Linked DNA regions of Homo sapiens: region 1 is linked to region 2. Evidence: promoter capture Hi-C in human tissues and cell types (Jung and others, 2019). All regions are on one chromosome and are shown on one strand. The core of a region is centred on a gene start or on the middle of the fragment in contact, and the rest is flanking DNA. Distances in the headings are between cores, read along the strand shown.

Region 1 (4,093 bases), core at 914-3,413, 970 kb after region 2:
CTGGCCAACATGGTGAAACCTCGCCTCTACTAAAAAAATACAAAAAATTAGCCAGGCGTAGAGGCGCCTCTACTAAAAAAATACAAAAAATTAGCCAGGCATAGAGGCATGCTTGTAATCTCAGCTACTGGGGAGGCTGAGGCAGGAGAATTGTTTGAACCCAGGAGGCGGAGATTGCAGTGAGCCACGATTGCGCCATTGCACTCCAGCCTGCGTGACAAGAGCAAGATTCCCTCTTTAAAAACAAAAAACAAAAAACAAAAAAACTCTAAAGCCAGACTCTTTTTTTTGAGACGGAGTCTCACTCTTTTACCCAGGATGGAGTGCAGTGACTCAGTCTCGGCTCACTGCAACTTCTCCTTCCCGGGTTCAAGTGATTCTTCTGTCTCAGCCTCCTGAGTAGTTGGGACTACAGGCGCCTGCCAACACACCCGGCTAATTTTTGTATTTTTAGTAGAGACGGGGTTTCACCATATTGGTCAAGCTGGTCTCGAACTCCTTACCTCAGGTGATCCACCCACCTCGGCCTCCCAAATTGTTGGGATTACAGACGTGAGCCACCGTGCCCGGCCCAGACTTCTTTTTTAAAAAACCAAACTTGGTGGCAAAACATCCAAAGTGAGGCTATTCATTTGACTTGGTACGAATGTTCATACACTTTGATGCAGAAATGTCAATAGGTTTGGCTACCCGGCGCTGCCCCACTCCTTGCTTGGTGTGTCATTCCAAAGTCTGAAATACATCTGGCCCCACTGGTTTCCAGTTAATATTGATCCTATATTTTTGCTAGGGAAAAAAGTTTTTGTTTTTGTTTTGAGACGGAGTCTTGCTCTGTCGCCCAGGCTGGAGTGCAGTGGCACGATCTCCGCCCACTGCAAGCTCCGCCTCCCGGGTTCACGCCATTCTCCTGCCTCAGCCTTCCGAGTAGCTGGGACTACAGGCGCCCGCCACCACGCCCGGCTAATTTTTTGTATTTTTAGTAGAGACGGGGTTTCACAGTGTTAGCCAGGATGGTCTTGATCTCCTGACCTAGTGATCCGCCCGCCTCAGCCTCCCAAAGTGCTGGGATTACAGGCATGAGCCACCGCGCCCGGCAAGGAAAAACAGTTTTTTAGGAAGGCCCCTGTCATTCTTAGTCCATAGGAATTTTTTTTTTTTTTTTTGAGACGGAGTCTGGCTCTGTCGCCCAGGCTGGAGTGCAGTGGCGTGATCTCAACTCACTGCAAACTCCGCCTCCCGGGTTCAAGTGATCCACCTGCCTAAGCCTCCTGAGTAGCTGGGACTACAGGTGCACGCCACCACGCCCGGCTAATTTTTGTATTTTTAATAGAGGCGGGGTTTCACCATGTTAGGCTGGTCTCGAACTCCTAACCTCGTGATTCGCCCACCTCGGCCTCCCAAAGTGCTGGGATTACAGGCGTGAGCCACCGAGCCTGGCAGATTATTTTTCACTTTAAACATTTTAGGAAAGACCCAAAGAATCCTCAGGGTTTACACTCACAGTACCTCGATTCCTGTATATTCCAAGATTTGTGGGAAGAAAAAGTACTAAGCTTGGAGTCAGGAGGCCTGATGTTTCTTCCTTTCACCAAGCTTCTCTAGTTCTGTTTCATTATCCCCATGGCAACAACTAGCAACAGTGACTGGCATTTAGTAGGCCCTTCATAAATATATGTTGAATAAACTCTAAAAGAGGTAGCTTTTCATTCCAAGTTGAGTTCTCTCTTGGTCCTGTTGCAGGCAAGGGCAATGGTACCCTGCCCTAGGTGCACAAGTGTGCAGGAGGGATCAATCGCAGAGCCTTTCCGAGAGAAGGGGCCCAAAGCGAGTCAACTTCTCTACTGAGCTTCCCATGAGGATGCTGGATCCCCAATCCTAACCATGCAGACGTCTGAGGGTCGCCGCCATTAACGGGAATGATATGGCCCTTCCTCCCCCACTCCCTCCTCTCTTCTCCCCTTTCAACACTTGAATTGGGCTCTCCGCTACTTCCGCACAGCGCAGGACCCACACGAGCCCAGAACCATCACGGCCTGCTAGTTCCCACCCCTCCCGTCCTGGAGGACCGTAGGTGGACGCTCTTGCAGAGCGCCTCTCGCTGGTTGGGGCGGGGGTGGGCGGAGCCAGCACCGTCTGGGCTGTGGAAGCGGAGGGGGTGGGGACACTCTGGCCCGGTTCTCGGTGGTGCGGGAGCGGGCGGGAGCAGCGGCCGCTCTGGTCGGCGGACGTGCTGCCGAGTAGTCCCGGAAGCGAAGCAGCGATGGCGGAGAGTCCGACTGAGGAGGCGGCAACGGCGGGCGCCGGGGCGGCGGGCCCCGGGGCGAGCAGCGTTGCTGGTGTTGTTGGCGTTAGCGGCAGCGGCGGCGGGTTCGGGCCGCCTTTCCTGCCGGATGTGTGGGCGGCGGCGGCGGCAGCGGGCGGGGCCGGGGGCCCGGGGAGCGGCCTGGCTCCGCTGCCCGGGCTCCCGCCCTCAGCCGCTGCCCACGGGGCCGCGCTGCTTAGCCACTGGGACCCCACGCTCAGCTCCGACTGGGACGGCGAGCGCACCGCGCCGCAGTGTCTACTCCGGATCAAGCGGTGAGCCGGGGTTTTTCCTCCCCCAGCCCCGAGCTCCGGGGCTCGACCTTCCCCGCCCCCCACCCTCTCCCACTACAACTCACCCCCCACCCACTGCGCTGCCCTCGCGGCGGCCCACCTCCACGGCCCAAATCTTGCCAGCTCCGGGCGTCGGGATCCAACTCCCTTCTCCCCCCACCCTCAGACCCGCAAGCACCAACCCCCGCCTCGTGTGCCCAGATCCGACCCCGCCCCTCGACAACCTCCCGTGAGCCCTCCGTCTCCATTCCGGCCACCCTCCCCCACACCTCCCACCTCCGGGTGGAAACCCGACCCTTTAGCGCTTCAGTAACGCCCCCTCCCGCCTTCGGCGCCGCCCCTATTTCCCCTTCCCCACCCCAACCTTGCTAGATGCTGCCCGCAGGCCCCACCCATCGGTCCCCTCTCTTCTCCTCTGGAGCCCCGTTCCTAACACAGACGAACTCAGCTTCCTTTGCCATGCCTCTGACTCGAGCCAACCTTTCTTTTTATCCTCCGTTTTTCTCAGATTCCCTCCACACAGTCTTTTCCCAGGTCTAGATCGCTTCCCTCGCCCCAATCTTTCCTTGAACCCCTTTTCCAGTGTCCCAAAGCTGTCCACTCTTACGCCTCTTCCAGAAACACAGGCTACCTCCCCCCAATTCCCCAGTGCCACTCTGGATTGTAATATCCCACTCAGGAGCTTCTTTCTTGTAATTTCCCTCCCCCCACCCCCCACCCTCCCCGGGTCGTCTGTTTTACTTCTATGAAGCAAATATACTCATCAAATATAGGAACAAAGGCCTAAGTCCTTTCTGTGCTTATTTCTTGGGTGACTGATCTTAGATCCTATCATTTAGTAGATGATGTTTTCCAGAAGCACATAGAATAGTACCTATCGCATAAGAAAAGGGCAGTGCTCTTTAGCTATTAATCCTGAAACCTGTTTGACTTCTCCCCATGCCCCCATCACAAGCATCTTCGTTTAGTTCTTATTCCCCATGTTCCACGTCCTTTCAGATGTCTCTGTGTCTACTTTTCAAGGTTGTAATAAAAATTAATATAATGTGTGTAAAGTACCTGGCACAGTGCCTGACACAGGAGGTCAACTGTGGAGGGATTGCCACCTCTAACTGAAACTCAGCACTCAACTCTTTTCCTCCTCCAGCCATTTCAGTCATCCAATTCTGACATACCTTTGAGTTTGGCCAATGCTTTCCTCTGCTTTGTCGCCTATTTGCCCTTTTTATGTCCCTACCCACCCTAGCAAGTCCCTAGGCTTTTCGCCACCTAGAATGTTCTTTAGCCCCTTGCTCTCAACTGATCCATTCCAGTTGGTGAGATATGAGTCAGAAATCTTATCTCCTATGGAAGTCCACATGTCATCTTCCAGATGGGAGATTCTTAGCAATTTCTGAGGATCCCTCCCCAGCCTGAAGAGATCTCTACCCTGAGACACCCCTGGGCAAGAAGGCCACCATGATAGTCTTACTCTCTGCTGGCTGGCTTGCTTCATACA
Region 2 (3,804 bases), core at 1,301-3,800:
CACTATACTGAGCTGTTGGCTTTTAAGTACATAGATGATCTTAGTCTTGGTGTCCTAGAATCCAGGTCCAGGGTAGCAGCAGCCCAGGAGTGCTGAGTGTGAAGAAAAACCCCATGGCCAGGCACGGTGGCTCACGTCTGTAATCCCAGCACTTTGGGAGGCCGAAGTGGGTGGATCACTTGAGGTCAGGAGTTCCATACCAGCCTGGCCAACATGGCGAAACCCCATCTCTACTAAAATTACAAAAAATTAGCCAGGTGTGGTGGCACACGCCTGTAATCCCAGCTACTTGGGAGACTGAGGCAGGAGAATGGCTTGAACCCAGGAGGCAGAGGTTGCAGTGAGCCAAGATTGCGCCACTGCACTCCAGCCTGAGTGACAGAGGGAGACTCTGTCTCAAAAAAAAAAAAAAAAAAAACCCATGAACCAAACCCATCTGAGTTGAAGTGCACTCACTACTGCTTACACAGGTTCAACTGCAGGGGCTTAGGAGGGCAGGAGTACAGCAATGTTCTTATACAGAAAGACAACTTCGGCCAGGTGCGGTGGCTCACGCTTGTAATGCCAGCATTTGGGAGGCTGAGGCAGGCGGATCACAAGGTCAGGAGATCGAGACCATCCTGGTTAACGTGGTGAAACCCCATCTCTACTAAAAATACAAAAAATTAGCTGGGCGTGGTGGCGGGCGCCTGTAGTCCTAGCCACTTGGGAGGCTGAGGCAGGAGAATGGCGTGAACCCGGGAGGCAGAGCTTTCAGTGAGACGAGATTGCGCCACTGCACTCCAGCCTGGGCGACAGAGCAAGACTCCATCTCAAAAAAAAAAAAAAAAAAAAAAAAAAAGAAAGACAACTTCAACAGGAAAGTAAATCTACTCAACTTTCTCTCAATTATGCTGATGGAGGAAAATGATGGCAGCACAAAAAAATCCAACCAGTGGAGAATCCATAGACCAATATCATTAAGCCTTGAGACATGTATTATTTCTTTGCAGCAAAATTGTCTTCCAGATTCTATCTGGCTCAAGCTATGTACACATAAAGGATGACAGGTATCTAATGTAGGGCTTCATGAAGCTCAGCTGTAATGCAGACACCTGGCCAGGCCAGGAAGTTCCCCTTACCTGGCACAGTCCTGGGTGCCTGCCTAGATGGCTCTTGCAGTTCCCCTTCCTGATGCTGGTGGAAAGCAGGGCTACAGAGAGGTCTCGACCCAAGGCCGCCCCAGCCAGCTCAGAATTGGACTGGGCATGAGTGGGTTTCCCATTTTTCAGCCTTGCATCCACAGCCTGGAAAGGCTATGCACAGCCACCTGCTCAGTGTACTCTCAGTTGGCAATTGCTTGCATTGACCTAGGGGCTAGACTCCTACTACCTAGCATGGGCAAAATGTGGAAAAAGGGAAGCTTGACAAAGATTGGGGAGACCCTGGAGAAATGGGACATTGGCAGCCTTGCTATCTACCAGGACACTGGCTCCTATGAACTCCAGTGCACCATGGCAGGGGAAACCATGAGCAAAGGGAGTAAAATGCTCTGACCCTTGCTTAAATAAATGAGGCTGGAGGGAAGGGGTTTAAAACTAGAAGAGGTGGCGGGCGCGGTGGCTCACGCCTATAATCCCGGCACTTTGGGAGGCCAAGGCGGGTAGATCACTTGAGATCAGGAGTTTGAGACTAGCCTGGCCAACATGGTGAAACACCGTCTCTACTAAAAATACAAAACTTAGCCGGGCGTGGTGGCGGGCGCCTGTAATCCCAGCTACCCGGGAGGCTGAGGCAGAGAATTGCTTGAACCCGGGAGGTGGAGGTTGCAGTGAGCCGAGATCGCGCCACTGCACTCCAACCTGAGCGACAGAGCTAGTCTCCGTCTCAAACAAAACAAAACAAAACCAAAACTAGAAGAGGAAAACCACTCTGGTCTGGGATACCTTGGTCCCAAATTTCCTTCTTCCCCCTTCCCATTCAGCCATCTTCCTTCTCACCTCACCGTCTCTTCCTCACCCCACTGCACCTCCCCACTCGGGGCATGGTCCACAAGTCATTTCAACCTCTCCCACTCTCATGCCCTAATTTCTCCCCACAACCAGATTACCCTTTTCTCTATGTGTCCCCATCACCTTGCCTCAGAGTCTGGCCCCTAATTCCATTTTCCATTTTTCTTTTCCCATTCCACTAGTCTCCCTTCCCAGGGGGTACTTCCTGCCCTAAGCTCACCTACAGGCACCTACTATGGGCCAGCCACTTAATACTGACTACTCCCCTCAAGCCCCCGGGACACATCCTCCGCCCCGCCTGAGCTGCAAGAGATCCTCCTATACCTTTAACCAACCTCCACGTGCGTGTTAACCGCGGTGACAGCATTTCCTTGTCTCTCTGCTCCCGCCCCCAAAGGCGCTACCCATTGGCCGCTGGGTTCCTCTGTTCTCGCTCTAATTGGCCTCGTTACCGAAAAGCTCCAACCAATGACCTCTCCGTGTCTGTCTCCCTCCTCCGATCCTGGAAACTCATTGGCTCCGAGGACTTAGGACCTGTTAGCTTGGTTGGGCGACTGGCAAATCCTTCCTTCCCCGGGGTAGAAGTCCAGGGTGAGAAATTGGTTCCGAACTCAAAGGAACCCAGTGCCGGGCCACAGCCGGGTCACGTGGCCGGCGGCCCCCCATGACGTGCTGGCTGCGGGGCGTCACGGCGACGTTCGGGCGACCTGCCGAGTGGCCAGGCTACCTCAGTCACCTGTGTGGTCGCAGTGCTGCCATGGACCTGGGACCCATGCGCAAGAGTTACCGCGGGGACCGAGAGGTGCCGCCGCTAGGGCCAGGCCTCCTGCAGGGGCGGGGGAAAAGGGGTCCCCGGAGTCATCTACAGCGGGGAGGGGAGTAGTAGGAGCCCCTCGGGGCTTCTGGGGCCACCCGGTGGGGCAAGGAGGTTTGAGGATCACCCCCCGTGGGAAAAGGGGGCTTCAAAGACATCCCACCAGGGGAGGAGTTCCGGGGAAACGCAAATGAAGATGGGTTCAAAAGGCAGCCTTTCGTAATGGGTAAGAGCTCGAACTTTGGAGCCTGCCTGGGTTGGAATGTTTAATGTATCTGGGCCTCAGTTTCCTCATCTGGGAAGTGATAGTATCTGCCTCACGGGGATGTTATGGTCTAAGATGTTTGTAAAGTGCTTAGAACCCTGCTACTCGACAGGTAGCAAGGTCAAATAACTTGCTCAGTCCCACAGCTAGTGATGAATGAATCGGGGTTTCATGTGATGGATGTCAGGACTGTGCTGGGCCTCCCTCAAGGGCGGGGGAAGAGGGGTCCTCGGAGTCATCTACTGGGGGGAGGGGAGTAGGAGGAAACAGCCCCTCAGGGCTTCTGGGGCCACCCCCTGGGGCAAGGAGATTTGGGGGTCACCCAAACCTCCTTGTGCCAGGTGGGCATGGTCATGGGCCCCTCTTTAGGTGGGTACAGTGACAAACAGCTTACAAACTGTTTGACAAAAAAGTAAGTGGAATATGGGGGAAGGGGACTAGCTCGGGGAGGAGGGGAGGAGAAAGCTCTTAGCTTACTGCCTTCAGTACTTTCTGCTGACCACTGGGAAGTTCTTTTCCTTTTCGCTCCTCAGGAGGGGAACCAAGAGAACCTTTTAGGAATTGGGGTCCAGGGCCCTGGTTGCCAAATCTGGTTGCATGTGGGCATTTCTAGAAACGCTTGTTTAAAATGCAGTTTTTCCAGCCTGGGCAACATAGTGAGACCCTGTCTCTACAAAAAATTAAAATTAGTCGAGCATGTTGGAGCGTGCCTGTAATTCCAGCTACTTGGGAGG

What was found. The method cuts DNA at HindIII sites, captures the fragments that hold promoters and counts their contacts. A contact is called where the count stands out against the background at its distance.
Region 1: the fragment with the promoter of UBE2Z here is called in contact with the fragment with the promoter of PNPO in region 2 in 1 of the 25 tissues and cell types used here (dorsolateral prefrontal cortex).

Annotation. Positions count from the first base shown.
Region 1 is chr17:48,906,244-48,910,336 of GRCh38, forward strand. It overlaps UBE2Z (ubiquitin conjugating enzyme E2 Z), which reads left to right and starts at 2,164. Exons shown (of 7, transcript NM_023079.5): 1 at 2,164-2,577. The coding sequence starts at 2,261. LOC105371814 (a long non-coding RNA gene) reads right to left here and starts at 2,740. Exons shown (of 4, transcript NR_135674.1): 1 at 2,696-2,740. RefSeq lists silencers at 2,303-2,552, 2,823-2,952 and enhancers at 3,826-3,875, 3,896-3,945. The HindIII fragment of the contact is 7,727 bases long and covers 1-4,093 here.
Region 2 is chr17:47,939,021-47,942,824 of GRCh38, forward strand. It overlaps PNPO (pyridoxamine 5'-phosphate oxidase), which reads left to right and starts at 2,551. Exons shown (of 7, transcript NM_018129.4): 1 at 2,551-2,793. The coding sequence starts at 2,656. SP2-AS1 (SP2 antisense RNA 1) reads right to left here and starts at 2,384. Exons shown (of 3, transcript NR_103857.1): 1 at 2,327-2,384. RefSeq lists an enhancer at 2,303-2,597. The HindIII fragment of the contact is 7,163 bases long and covers 1-3,804 here.